Linked DNA regions of Homo sapiens: all the other regions are linked to region 5. Evidence: promoter capture Hi-C in 16 types of primary human blood cells and fetal thymus (Javierre and others, 2016). All regions are on one chromosome and are shown on one strand. The core of a region is centred on a gene start or on the middle of the fragment in contact, and the rest is flanking DNA. Distances in the headings are between cores, read along the strand shown. Region 1 has its middle 6.0 kb from the start of TAFA2. Region 2 has its middle 8.5 kb from the start of MON2. Region 3 overlaps TAFA2 (TAFA chemokine like family member 2). Region 4 overlaps TAFA2 (TAFA chemokine like family member 2). Region 5 holds the start of SLC16A7 (solute carrier family 16 member 7).

What was found. Contacts are between HindIII fragments. The CHiCAGO score rates a contact against its expected background, and 5 or more counts as called.
Region 1: a contact is called between a fragment that was not itself captured here and the fragment with the promoter of SLC16A7 in region 5, in 1 of 17 cell types (non-activated CD4 T cells). The highest score is 5.9, in non-activated CD4 T cells.
Region 2: a contact is called between a fragment that was not itself captured here and the fragment with the promoter of SLC16A7 in region 5, in 2 of 17 cell types (total CD4 T cells and non-activated CD4 T cells). The highest score is 6.3, in total CD4 T cells.
Region 3: a fragment that was not itself captured here is called in contact with the fragment with the promoter of SLC16A7 in region 5 in 4 of 17 cell types (total CD4 T cells, monocytes, naive CD4 T cells and 1 more); the score reaches 10.9 in total CD4 T cells.
Region 4: a contact is called between a fragment that was not itself captured here and the fragment with the promoter of SLC16A7 in region 5, in 1 of 17 cell types (M0 macrophages). The highest score is 6.2, in M0 macrophages.

Annotation. Positions count from the first base shown.
Region 1 is chr12:62,197,328-62,200,251 of GRCh38, reverse strand. It overlaps a transcript of TAFA2 not described here. Among named protein-coding and RNA genes, the nearest start is that of TAFA2, 6.0 kb to the right of the region's middle. The HindIII fragment of the contact is 4,693 bases long and covers 1-2,924 here.
Region 2 is chr12:62,456,847-62,459,751 of GRCh38, reverse strand. No RefSeq gene overlaps it. Among named protein-coding and RNA genes, the nearest start is that of MON2, 8.5 kb to the left of the region's middle. The HindIII fragment of the contact is 1,125 bases long and covers 978-2,102 here.
Region 3 is chr12:62,179,635-62,182,334 of GRCh38, reverse strand. The region is part of intron 1 of TAFA2 (TAFA chemokine like family member 2); the gene reads left to right. Among named protein-coding and RNA genes, the nearest start is that of TAFA2, 12 kb to the left of the region's middle. The HindIII fragment of the contact is 1,837 bases long and covers 369-2,205 here.
Region 4 is chr12:62,085,977-62,088,676 of GRCh38, reverse strand. The region is part of intron 1 of TAFA2 (TAFA chemokine like family member 2); the gene reads left to right. Among named protein-coding and RNA genes, the nearest start is that of TAFA2, 110 kb to the left of the region's middle. The HindIII fragment of the contact is 3,802 bases long and covers 1-2,700 here.
Region 5 is chr12:59,594,527-59,597,448 of GRCh38, reverse strand. SLC16A7 (solute carrier family 16 member 7) reads right to left here and starts at 1,420. Exons shown (of 6, transcript NM_001270623.2): 1 at 1,213-1,420. RefSeq lists enhancers at 612-761, 812-951 and a silencer at 1,422-1,491. The HindIII fragment of the contact is 11,642 bases long and covers 1-2,922 here.

The sequences.
Region 1 (2,924 bases), core at 220-2,719, 2.6 Mb before region 5:
AAAGAGCTTCTACACAGCAAAAGAAACTATCATCAGAGTGAGCAAACATTCTACAGAATGAGAGAAAATTTTGCAGTCTATCCATCTGACAAAGTCTAATATCCAGAATCTACAAGGAACTTAAACAAATTTACAAGAAGAAAACAAACAACCCTATTAAAAAGTGGGCAAAGGACTTGAACAGAGACACTTCTCAAGAGAAGACATATATGCAACTAACAAGCATGTGAAAAAAACTCAACATCACTGATCATTAGAGAAATGCAAATTAACACCACAATGAGATATCATCTCACACCAATCAGAATAGTGTTTATTAAAAAGCAAGAAACAACAGATGCTGTTGAGGTTGTGGACAAACAGAAACACTTTTACACTGTTGGTGGGAATGTAAATTAGTTCAACCATTGTGGAAGACAATGTGGTGATTCCTCAGAGACCTAGGACCAGAAATACCATTTGACCCAGCAATGCCATTACTGGGTATATACCCAAAGGAACATCAATCATTCTATTATAAAGATACATGCATGTATATGTTCATTGCAATACTATTTACAATAGCAAAGATATAGAATCCACACAAATTCCCACTAGTGATAGACTCGATAAAGACAATGTTTTATATATATATACACATACATATATATATATATACACACACATACACACACACACACCATGGAATGCTATGTAGCTGTAAAAAGGAATGAGATCATGTCCTTTGCAGGGAAATGGATGGAGCCCAAAGCCATTATCCTCAGCAAACTAACACAGGAACAGAACACCAAACACCGCATGTTCTCATTTATAAGTGGGAGCTGAACAATGTGAACACATGAACACAGGGAGGGAAACAACACACACAGGGGCCTGATGGCGTTGGCAGGGTGTGGGGAGGGAGAGTATCAGAATAAATAGCTTATGCATGGGGGTATAATACCCAGGTGATGGGTTGATAGGTGCAGCAAACCACAATGGTACATGTTTACCTATGTAACAAACCTAGACGTCTTGCACATGTATCCAGGCACTTAAAACAAAATGAAGTAAAATAAAATAAAAAGGCATGTGGCCTACTTATCCCCAGTACTCCAGCTTACAATCAGCCAATTGTCAGATAATGACGGAGGCAATGCACTGCCAGTTGATTTCAGACACATGAGTAAGCCCAACCGAGTCGGGAAGAATGAGCCAAAAACAAATTGCCAATCCACAGAAATGTGAACTAAATAAATGTTTCTTCTTTAAGTAACTAAGTTTTGGGGTGGTTTGTTATATTTGCCTACTACATGTAGGACAGTTTTCCTGCCTCAGTTGTTTCTCACATCACTTTGTGAAATGGTCTTCTTGACTTATCTCCATGGCATGTGTCTATTCAGTTGGCCTGTTTGGTTTCCTGAGTTTTGACCACAAAGTATTTATAGAGTATTTATTGTGTGTAAGGTACCATGCTAGGGGATGGGGATAGCATAAGTTAATAACATGCATGTAACCTTGGGTTGTGTGGAATGAATTCTGTGCTTCCTTCCATTCACTTGATTACATGAAAATATTCTGTAAATGTTTTTAAAAAACATTTAAAAGATAAGTGAGAGACACATTATTGCATAAGTTAGAAATAACTTGGTTAACATCAAATAAAATAAGAGGAGACAAGTGGGGATGAATGGCTTGTAGGTAGCAATCCTACAAGCTAAGAACTATGAACTGGGACTCGTAAGTTTTAATTTAATTGTTATAATACCGTATCTTGCAGAACACTGCGGGGAGCCAGAGCTAATTTTTCTCCTTATTCTATCTCTCTTACTAATCTCTTCTCTTTATTCTTACTAATGAACCCAGGTTCTCTGGCTAAAGCCTTTTCCATATCCAGATCCAAATGAGTTTGATCTCCCTGTGATACAGGGGTTGGAGGCAGAAAGAGAGGAGGCTGGGAAAACAAAAACAAGAACAAAACCAAGCCAAACAAAAAATCAATGACTGGCTCTGACTTTAGATAGATCTGGTTTGAATCTCAGCTCCAATATATAATAACAGGTAGATTGTCTCATTTTTTTTTTCATGTGATAAGTGGGTTTATATCGTCTGCTTTATGAGATGTTGTGGGGATTTGAGGTAAGGAGTTTGGATATAATACAAAGCCTTTTGTAGAAAGCTAGAAGTGCTCCAAAAGCTCTCCACCACAGCAGATGGGAATACAAAATGGCACAGACACTTTAGAAAATACTTCTTGTTTTTAAGTTAAACATACCCTACCATATGATCCAGCCATTTCATTTCTAGGTAGTAACCCAAGAGCAATGAAAACATAGGTTCACTCAAAGCCTTCTTCACAAATGTTCATAGCAGCTTTATTTTTAATATCCCCAAACTAGAAGTAACCCAAATGTTCATTAAGAGGTGAATGGTTAAAGAAATTGTGGTATATCTACAATGTGAAATACTACTTGGAAGTAAAAAAGAATGACCTATTGCTATGTACAACAACACAGATGATCTGAAAATAATTATTCCAATGGGAAGAAGCCTGACAAAAAAAGAACACATAAAATACTATTCAATTTATATAAACTGTGGAAAATGCAAACTATAGTGACAGAAACTAGATCAGTGGATGCTAGAGACAGGACTGGAAGAAGATATGGATTATAAATGGGCATGAGGTAACTTTTGGGGGAATGGAAACATTTGGTATTTTGACTGGTGGTAGTTTCACAGATATACCCATGTGTCAAAACTCATCAAATTGTACACTTTAAATACATGCAGTTGATTGTATATCAATTATACTTCAATAAAGTAATTTTCTATAAAAGGCAAAAAAGAAAAAGCCTGAAGTGCACCAAAGTGATTTTTAGCGAACAGAACATGGAAAGCTATGATAGAGTTACAATCCAGTTAAGTTCAGTGTTTAAAGAAAT
Region 2 (2,905 bases), core at 291-2,790, 2.9 Mb before region 5:
CTTTTACTGGTAAAACAATGAGCCATGATCATATCACTACACTCTAGCCTGGGCAACAAAATGAAACCCTGTTTCAAAAAAAAAAAAAAAAAAAAAGGGAGGGAGGGGAAGATCTGATAAAGTTAGAGGCCTGTCTCTTTCCTTAATCTATTTTCTGAACATCTTTTTTTTTTTTGAGACGTTGTTTCACCCTTGATGCACAGGCTGGAGTGCAATGGCGTGATCTCAGCTCACCGCAACCTCCGCCTCCCAGGTTCAAGCAATTCTCCTGCTTCAGCCTCCCTAGTAGCTGGGATTACGGGCATGTGCCACCACGCCCGGCTAATTTTGTATTTTTAGTAGAGACAGGGTTTCTCCATATTGGTCAGGCTGGTCTTGAACTCCCAACCTCAGGTGCTCCGCCCACCTCAGCCTCCCAGAGTGCTGGGATTACAGGCATGAGCCACCGTGCCTGGCCTATTTTCTGAACATCTTGATTGGAACCTTCCTTTCAGATTGGTTATTTGTTTAGAAAGAAAGAACTTTAGGTTTGTCATAGCACTACTCAGTACATATCCCTATATGATAACACATATTCTATTTAATTGTAACATTGTCTGTCTCCCTGCTACACTACGAGTTCTTCAGTGGAAAGGCCCTTGTGTTACTCATAGCTATATTCCTGGCAACTGGTGTGTGTTTGTGTGTGTGTACACACACACAGACTAAAACAGTTGTTTCAGTTACACGGATTCTTGTTCTTGATCACAGAGGAGCGAAGGTACAGAGAAAGTTATCAAGGCAAGAATTTGAGCAAAGGAAAACACTAGTGGACTGGGATATACATGTTAGGCAACTTGTTCCCACAGAGGAGACTCAATAAATCTTGAAGTGAGTGCCATCATGTACCTGCCACGGTACATCTTATCCCAAATAGCTGCTTCCTTACCTCAAGAAATATTTGTTGAGTGAATGGAATGCTGCAACTAAGATAAGCTTTCTGCCTTTGGAGTTTAAGACCACAACTGTAAAAATACTAAGCCATTGTGAAAACAACTGTACATGGCATATGGTGTTTGCCAAAAGTAAATGTCTTAAATCTTTGAAATAAAGTTTGAATCACAACCAATAATTATTCTTAAGATCAGTGAATTCGCCTGGCATGGCGGCTCATGCCTGTAATCCCAGCACTTTGGGAGGCCGAGGCAGGTGGATCATGAGGTCAGGAGTTCACCACCAGCCTGGCCAACATGGCAAAACCCTGTCTCTACCAAAAAAATACAAAAATTAGCTGGGTGTGGTGGTGCACCCCTGTAATCCTAGCTACTCAGGAGGCTGAGGCAGGAGAATCACTTGAACCCAGAAGGCAGAGGTTGCAGTGAGCCGAGATAGCACCACTACACTCCAGCCTGGGCGACAGAGCAAGACTCTGTCTCAAAAAAAAAAAAAAAAAAATCAGTGAAGTCAATGTAAAATTCCTAGCATAGTGTTTGGAACACGACTGGTGCACAGAAATTATTAGCTCCTTATTGTCTTAATACAGAGCCAAGAGTAGACAGTGAATGTTTTCCTTCACTACATTTATGTACTGATTATTGTATCTTTTTATTGTAAGACATTTTTGAGGATCTGGTTTTATTTTTTAAAATTATTGGCAAGGCCAGACCTCAGTCAAAATGTGGAGTAGGTAGTTCCCAAGGCTCATTACCCTTCACAGAAACACCAAAAAATGAACAAAAACTGTCAGAATCCGCTTCTCCAGAATCTGGAAAATAGTCAAAGGTTTATAGCAACCAAGTGAACACTGAATTAAGAAAATGACTTAAGCCAGCAGGAGAGCTTTGTGGCATTTAACTTAGCTTTGCCTCACTCACATTCCCAGAATAATAGCAGGTCTTCTAGATGGCAATCTACATTCCTGCTGGGGATATCTGGTTCTGAATGAAATAGAGTGGACCTTCTTTCAAAGAATTGTGTTTGTTAGCTGCAATATGTCTGGGAGTTCCCTAAAGGACTGAAAAACAGGATTGCCTTTATTTCGCCTTACTCAGAACTCTTTCGGGGCAGAAAAATGGCTAAGTGAGGGCATTCTTCAAAAACATTTAAAGGCACATAAACAAGCTTAGGAATCCCTCTCTTGAACGTATATAATATACATATTTAGACTATGAACTGCCAGATTGCTTTACAGAATGGACAAATATGTCTGGTCTTTCACCAGCAGCACTAGGTCCCTGTATCTCCACATTTCCACCAACACTTGGGAAAATTAGATTTTCTACTGTGTGTCAATCTAATGGTATAAAATCTCACTGTTTTAATTTGTATTTTATTACTAATGATTTTGTGCATGTTTTCATGTATGTGTTAAGATTTGGGTTTCTTCTTCTGTGAATTGCCCATTATCATTTGTCCATATTTCTATTGTATTTTCTTGTTGTTAATTTGGAAGCATTTATCATATGTTCTAGGTATCAGTGCCTCTTTAGCATTAGACAGTATAAATGATTTCTCCTAATTTGCTATGTGTTTGTTAACTTTTTTCATAAAGTCCTTTGTTGAAAGGAAATCCTTAATTTTATAAAGTCAAACCTTATTCCAAGTCTTGGGACAGAAATTTTCATTGTTTTTTTGCATCATTCCTTCATCTTAAGGTTTGTGCTTTCTGGTAGTCTTCTCTAACTTTCAACTTTTCTCAAGTTGTTTAAGTTGAAAAGCCATGAGCCATGAGTTTGCATTATATAGATTTAATTTTACCAGCCTGTTCATGGATTTCAAAGAGAGAGGCACTTTACCAGTTTATATGATGTTTTTGAATAGCCTCTCTCAGTACCACACCAAACCCATTAACAAAGCTGGTACCTAATCAGACACCATGCAGTCAATCAGGAATAGGCCCAAATGAACCTTCCCAATGTTTTTTAAG
Region 3 (2,700 bases), core at 38-2,537, 2.6 Mb before region 5:
GGCTCTTTCATAGGAGCACAGAATTTGTAAGTGTTTTGCTTAGTTTTTTAACCTTCCATTTAGAGAACATATTTTTCCTCCAATACGTAAATTAGAAATTGTTTTTCACATATTAATACAAGTTTGGTTTACATCCTACAGTTTGAAGAGATGTTTATTTCATAACTAAGACATTATATTATATATCAATATATTCTAGTATACAAAGTCAATTTTAGTTCTCCAAATTATTTTTGGAATTTCAATAGTGACTTATTCCTTTTAGGGCTTAGATGTCAAAATTTTGGCCATAATGTCTAGGTTTTTGTTCTACTTGAGTAGCTACTATGTGTAGCGGGGGGGGGATGGACTTGAGAAAAGATGAAGCTTTCCTTGTGTATTTATTGGGCTTACAATTTTAAAATGAATATCTCTTCCTTTTTGTAAATTTTGCCCTGTTAATCTTAAATAACTTTCCATAAGTGATTCCTATAGGATTGAAGACATAATACTTTATGATTTAGGAAGTTTGAACTTCTTATCTTCATATATTAGAAGGATTTTCTCACCCTAAGCCAGTTTGGCTAATGTCAGAAGGTGTCATAGCTAAGGTACGTGACTCTATTCTACTGCTGTCTAGGACCTCATGTCACAAGCTCAGTTCACTGGATGAAATATTTCGTCATCAGTTTTATCAATGCTCTGGAAGTTCTTATGTTTCCTTATGCTGGTGTATTAATTATAAACTGAGATTAGATTTAGACATGTCAGTCTGAGGGAGTGAAGCAATTTGTTTTCTTTCAAGTTGTATGATTAATATAGTTCGTAATAGTCATGCTATTAAATCTTACTCAGTTTTTTTCTTCTAAGTGTTTACAAGTTTCTACTATATAGAATAGCTTTGCTTATAGCAGAGGAATGATATCAATTCATTCCACTGAATCTGTTAGACTGTAAGCTCTGTGAGGCAGACCCATGTATATCTCATTTCTATTGATTCTCAATGTTTAGCATAGTGTCTGGCATCTAATAGGTACTTAATAAACTTAATGGGAAGATGGGATCAGTAGTTACATAGTTACAAATTGATAGAGTGTAGCTTTATATGTTTCTTCAATGCCGAAGGGAGAATTCTGTGAAGAAGTGTCATTTCTAATTATGTGTGTGTGCACACGCGTGTGTGTATGTGAGAGAGAGACTCAGGGGGCGGGGGGCACCAGTTTTTCTGACCTACACCCGAATTAACAAATACATTCTAGGCAAAAGGTCAAGGACAAAAATAAAGTAAGCATGCTGACTGAAATTCTCATTCTTTCCATAATTTATTGTAACCTGGAGACTTAGAGACTACATACACTTGTGATTCTACTGTTGTATAAATTAAATAATATTTGTCAATGTCAAATTTAAGTGTTGTTAATCACATATGGAATATATTTTGATTGCTCTTGTCAGTAACTTGACTCATTCATTAGGGAATTTAAAGCCATTTATTCTTATCTACATAATTACCATTTTTGTAATTTATCATGAACTGGGATTTGCTTTTTTTTTGTTAACTTCAGAAACATTATTGACCATGATACCATTGTTCTTGGCTTCAATGATACTAAATTTTTTTGGCTATTCTAATTCTAAATGCTATTTAGTATAGCTAATATGCTCAGATATTTATTGATTTCATTTTCACCCTTCTGAGTTAAGTAAGGCTTCTAAATTCTTGCCACCATAGAAGATTCCACAAAATTAAAACTCTTTGACTGTACTTGATTATTTAAAAAACACATATGTTTAATAAAACCTGAAAAAGTTCAGTTTATTAGATTATAAAAAAGTTGAATATTTTTTCTTTGCATGTATTTTAAAAGATTATAACTGTATATATTAGCATTGCTACACACTTAGAAACTTTCTCAAAACCCTTGAATATGATGTCTTTAGTCTTTGAAGTATAATATTTTTGGGATTCTCTGATGATTCTCAAGAAAGGCTTTAAATGGAATGAACCTGATTTTTCCTTGTATTGTCCCAAAACACTCAGACTTGTGTAACTAAGCTCTAAGCTCAATCTAATTTTTGAGCTATGGCTACGGTGGTACTTATTGAAAAAGATGTATCTATTCTTCTTCCCCAATGCAATCCCAAATATGAAAATTCGTAAAAAATTCAGGTACTGTATAGTACTGAAAAAAATTTAAAATCAATACATGGAATTGAAATCAAGCTTACTGCACATTGGTGAATTTTACCTTGGAGCAGAGTCCATGTTACACTACTAGGAAAACTGGGTGAGCTATGATTTTCCTTGCTTACTGTCTTTTCCTAGCAGCTGATTACCTAGTCTTTAAGGTGAACTTCAGGGTTTGTAGCTAATATTTTACTTTGCATTTTATGAAATCTGCATCAAGTTCACTGGGCAGATGGTATGGCAGACCGGAGTGAACTGAGAGAAAAAAGCAGACTGAATAACTGGCAGTCAGGGATTGAGAAGGTGGCAGGGTTAGCATTTTGTGGGATATAACGAGGAAGAATTATCAGGTAGGGAGCCAGATGGAGTAAAAGTAAGAGAGAAAAGAAGATCAGAAGGGAAGTTTGTTCTAGATTTCTCTCTAAAAAAAGAGGAAATCCTTGACCTTTGAGAAAAGTAAGAAGTTAGAAAAGAATAAATCCATTGAAATTCTTGGGGAACAAAGAGGTAAAATGGCAATGCACTGAAGTAAG
Region 4 (2,700 bases), core at 186-2,685, 2.5 Mb before region 5:
CTTCTTCATTTTTGATGCTTTTTTCTAACTAATTTCCAGTGTCTTTTTTTTTTTTTTTTTTTAATGTGGTCCAGGCCCTCTACAGGGCTGTTTCCCCGAGAGTCTTCTTTTCTATCTCTTCGTAGCATAAAATCTTCCCTGGTCCAGGATCCAGGATAAAGCTCCTTCTACCACAGTGTTAGCAGACCAAAGACCCGGTTCCATGTTCTTTGTCTCTGTCTGAGCAGAAGGACCGGGGACAGCCTAAGAGCTACTCCTGTACGTGCTGCTGTCTCCTGGGAATTGCTCCTTTTCTCTTGTATTTCTTGATCAATTACTTGAACTGTCTTTTAGTTGGCTAATTCAATTTGCCTTGTTTTTTTTTTTCTTCTGAAGTTTTAGTACATTTACATAGCTACTGAATTGGGATGGAAAGAGGAATGTGAGATTGTTAAGTGACTATGGACAAAAAGGACTCATGAATAAAACAAATGTGGAGTTCTGTTGTTTTTCCTTCATTAACAATACTGTTAATAGTGCATCTTTGAAACATCAATACTACAAATTTGCCTTAAGCTGAGGAGTTACCCTTGATTCTTATTTTTCCTTTGTTCTTCATAGCTAGGGCAACCATATGATTTATTCTTCAAACTGGGATACTGTTGAGAATAAAAGAGATACTAACCATACAGGGCACTGGGACAACAGACAGAAATCAGCTCTGTCCCAGGGAAACAGGGAATGTATGATTACCCTATTTATAATGAAAACAGCAAGATTTGTTGGCTTTACCTTCAAAACATATGTTGAATGCCTCCATTTTTCTCTGTCATGACTGCTATCATCTATTCCAAGCCACCACCGTCCCTACTGTTAGAACAACTCCTAATGGATCTGCTTCAACTCTTGCCCTCTTATGATTCATTTCCTACACAGTGGCCAAAGTGATCTTTTACAAACAAATTAGATCACTTAATTCTCCTGCTCAAAAATCCTCCAAGTTTTACATTGTCCTTAGAAGAAAATCTAGGCTCCTTCCCTGGCCTACCACATCTTACCTATCCCTTGTAGGTCATCCCTTATCTACATTCCCAGGATCCACTCTAGTGTGCCTTTTTTCTGTTTCTTCAACATGCAGAGCTCATCCCTGCTTCAAGGACTTTGCATTTGCTATACTCTCTGCTTCAAATGCTTGTCCCCCAGGTCTCACCTTTCTGATTCTTTCTTGTCAATCAGACCTCAGTCAAATGTCATTTCCACTGAGTACTCTCATTCTAATGTAGTTTTCGGGCTTCTTCCAGTCACTTTCAGTGATACAATGTTTCTTTGTAGCACTTCTTACTGCCTGAAATTATCTTTGTATACTTTGTTTTTACCGTGGTAAAGTGTACATAATCTGAAATTTACCATTTTAACCATTTTAAGTGTACAGTTCAATGGTATTAAGTATATTCACATTGTTGTATAACCATCATGACTATCCATCTCCATGACTTTTTTCAGCTTCCCAGTCCCATAACTCTACACCCACCAAGCACTAACTTCCCATTCCTCTCTTTCACCCAGCTCCTGGCAACCACCATTCTACTTTCTGTCTCTATGAACAAATTTGACTACTCTAAGTGCCTCTTATAAATGGAATCATACGGTATTTGTCATTTTGTAACTGGCTTATTTCACTTAGCCTAAAATCCTCAAGGTTAATCCATATTGTAGCATGTGTCAGAATTGGTTCCTTTTTTATGTCTGAATATTATTCCATCTTATGTATATACCACATTTTATTTATCCATTTATCTGTTAGTGGACACTTGGGTAGCTTTTACATTTTGGCTATTGTGAATAGTGTTGCTATGAATATAGGTGTATAGATAACTGCTTGAGTCCTTGCTCCCAACTCTCTTGGTTATATAACCAGATGTGAAATTGCTGGATCACATAGTAATTCTATTTTTAATACTGTTTTCCATAGTAGCAATACCATTTTGCCTTCCCTCCAGCAATGAGCAAGATTTCATTTTCTCTACATCCTCACTAACATTCATTCCCCACCCCCTACCCTTTTTTGGGTAATAGCCATCCTTTATATGTATGAAGTGGTATCTTATTGTGGTTTTGATTTGCATTTCTCTAATGATTAGTGATGTTAAGCATCTTTTTATATTCTTATTACCCATTTGTATACATTCTTTGAAGAAATCTCTATTCAAGTCTTTGTCCGTTTTTAAATTGGATGGTTGGTTTGTTGTTATTCAGTTGTAGGAGTTCTTTATATATGCTGGATATTATTCCCTTATCAGGTATATGATTGGCAAATATTTTGTCTCATTTTATGGGTTGTCTTTTCACTCTGTTGATACTGTCCTCTGACATACAAAAGTTTTTAACCTTGAGGAAATCCAAATTACCTATTTTTTTCTTCTGTTGCCTCTGCTTTTGATGTCATATCCAAACAATCTTGCTAAATCCAATGTCATGATGCTTTTTCCTGTTTTTTTTTTTGTTTTTGTTTTGTTTTGTTTTGTTTTTTTGAGACTGTCTTAGTCCGTTCTCATAATGCTATGAAGAACCACCTGAGACTGGGTAATTTGTAAAGAAAAGAGTTTCAATTCGCTCATGGTTCTGCAGGCTGTATATGCTTCTGCTTCTTGGGAGACCTCAGGAAACTTACAATCATGGCAGAAGGAGAAGGGAAAGCAAGAAACTTCTTCACATGGTGGC
Region 5 (2,922 bases), core at 171-2,670:
GTCACTCTTTCCTCTGGGTCCAGTCTTTTTCCCATCACTTTCATCATTGTCCGCTATTTTATTCCTCTGCCGCATCTCCTTTGGGACCCAAGAGGGAAGGAGGACACGAAATAATACAGGAAAGGAAATCAAAAAACAATTGTAGAGAAACCACTCCTCGTTTCCTCTTCTATGTCTCGTGTGTGTGTGTGTGTGTGTGTGTGTGTGTGTGTGTGTGTGTGTGTGTAAAATTTTAATTTCCCTGGAATTGGAACTACAGAAGTCCCTCCTCAGCCCTACCGGGAAAGTGGCACTGGGCACGACCGCCCTTTCCAAGGCAGTCTGCAATCCTTTTCGCGGAAGTAGAGGAGAAAAGGGGGTGGAGAAGGGCGCCGCGATGCAGCATCCGCTGAGAAAACAGGCAGTTCGCACGTGAGCGGGCTCGCAGCCTGTGGCGCCACCTGACCGGGCCTGGCGCCCCCAATGTGGTGCAGTGGCCCAGCAAGACCAGAAGGCTCAGGCCCTCCTGAACCCTTGCCAAGTCAGAGGTCCCTTTCTGCCTGGGCTCAGGCCTCGCCCGCATATAGTTTTCCATCTGCTTCCACCCCTGCCATCCTTCCTGGGGACCAAAAATGAAGAAAGACAACCCCCCCATCCCCCGGTATTTCGTCTTCCCCTCACAGCCTCTTCCTGTCCTGATCATCTGCTCAAAGAGAAGACGTTCTCTCCACACACTCCACCCCCGCCTCCACCTTCTGCGGCAATGAAGCCACGCCACCCTAGGGGGCTCGGGGGCCGGATGCTGGCGGGGCGCGCACTAGAGACACGCCGCACTGGAAGCAGCCCTCGGAGTCCCGTGAGCCAGGGAGACTGGGGTGCACCGCGCCACGCTGAGTCTCGGTGTAAAAGCCGAGAGCGTGAGCACCTCCTGGCCGAAAGCACGCGAGGCGCTCCTTGCCCAGGACCCCGCGCGCCCCCTCAGTTCCCGGGCAGCTGTCGGCGCGCACTGGCTGACGCGAGCTCTGCTCCCGCGGCCGCTTCGGGATTTTTTTGTCTATATAAGGGCTCGCTGGCCAACTCTGCGTTGGCACGTTTGTCACAGGCTGGCCATTATTTGCACACACGCGTGCGGCTCCGCGGGCAGCTCGGGTCGCAGACGCAGGCTCGCCCTCCTCTTAGCCGGCACCTCCTCCTCCTCCTCCTCCTCTCCCCTCCCTCCCCAGCTGTACTTACTTTATCTGGTCTCTGGCGCAGGGTGGGCGCTGCAGCCCTCCGTTCCCAGCAAACCGCAGCCGATTCGCCTCGCTGTCAACGGGTGAATGGAATTATTTATTTATTTATGGCCCCTGACGTGTCCTCGCCCGCCACAGCCAGCGGAGAAGGAGGCGGTGGCGGGAAGGGGAGGCGCGGCTGCTGAACGCCCTTGTGGGTGCGGAGGAGCGCGCGCCAGGGGTGGGGGCCGGACAGGCTGCGGTGGAGGCCGGCCCGGGGGGTGGTGGGGGGGAGCCGCCTCCCGGTGCCTGGAGACCGACTGAGCATGCTCCAAGCGGCTGTCAAAGCTATAGGCACTTTCTCTATCGCTCGGGGCACTCCACTTCGGATTTTAGTTTTGACCAAGGAAGAAAGCCAAAAGGCAGGTAGATCTGTCTTTCCAGATGGGTCGTAACTTGCTGTATCCGAAGTACTCTGTAGCCTGACCTAGAAGACAGATGTGCGGTAGCTCTGTGCAACCCAAGCATGGGAGAGGAAAGCATGCAAAAAAAGAAGAGTCTGGCCGAATGCAGGGAGAATAGGAGATCCTCATTGTGAGCTTGCAGGGAAAGTGTTGAGCCATTTTTCAACTGAGGCCTTTTTGGGAGAAAGAGGTAGGGCACTGTTGGAGATTAGACTCACCAACCAAATCACTTCACGGAAAAAAATATAATTGACACCATAGGAGGAAGGACATAGAAAACAGCACCAAAAAACATTAAAAATAAGAAGGATTTTTTTTCAAATCATTTATAATTCCTTTCATTTTTAATTTCTCAAATTACTTAGTTCTTCAAACCAGCATTTAGTTATTTGACAACGAATAGTGCTAGAGATAATGGTAATTCTGCTGTCATTGGTTTGGTCTCTTCCCCTGTCTAAAATGTGCTTCTTGGTAAAACTGGAAAGAGGAAGGGCTGGAAGAGAACATTTAAGTAACCCCATAGATTGGGTTTCTTTAATATCTTTAAGTTAAATTGCCACTTTAGAGAAAAAGAAACTATCCAAAAGAATAATTGTAGGTTTTGGCTTGACAAGTCCTATTGCAGTTTGTCTACCAGTTTAGCTAGCTTTCTCCTCCTTGATTTCACAATCATTTTAAGGTGTGTTCTATGATTCTTCACATTTTACGAATTTATAAAAAGAGTTAAGTCATTTGGGTAAATTCACATTGTCTTTGCCACAGCTAGTCTGTTGTAATGGACGAAATTTGAATTTCAATTTCTGTAGCTATGAAATAAAAGTAATATCAATCGTGTTGATTTCATAAGATTTAAGTGAAATAATATACATGAAGTGGCTGGTAGGCATAATACAAGATGAAAAAATAATCGTGATTAATAACATCAAAATTACTGGAAGATAATTTTATTGAAAGAATGATATTTGAAAATGAAAAAAAGGCAGAAAATTACAGAAAGGATTTTATATTTTTAAGCTAAAAATGCTTAAATAGACATTTGTATAAGACATAATAGGCCTTTGATAATGATGAAATGTCTAGCAGTGACTATAAACACTTCATTTAATTAAAAAAAGTTAAACATTTAAAAGAAACAACATAAAGGCACATTTCAAGGTCATAGTCTTGAGTGTTTGCTATTGATATTTTTCCTGCTCATTCATCACTTTTATTTCCTGTCAAAGAAGAGGAAGAAGAAAGACCATATGCTTTCTGAATTTTGATCCTAT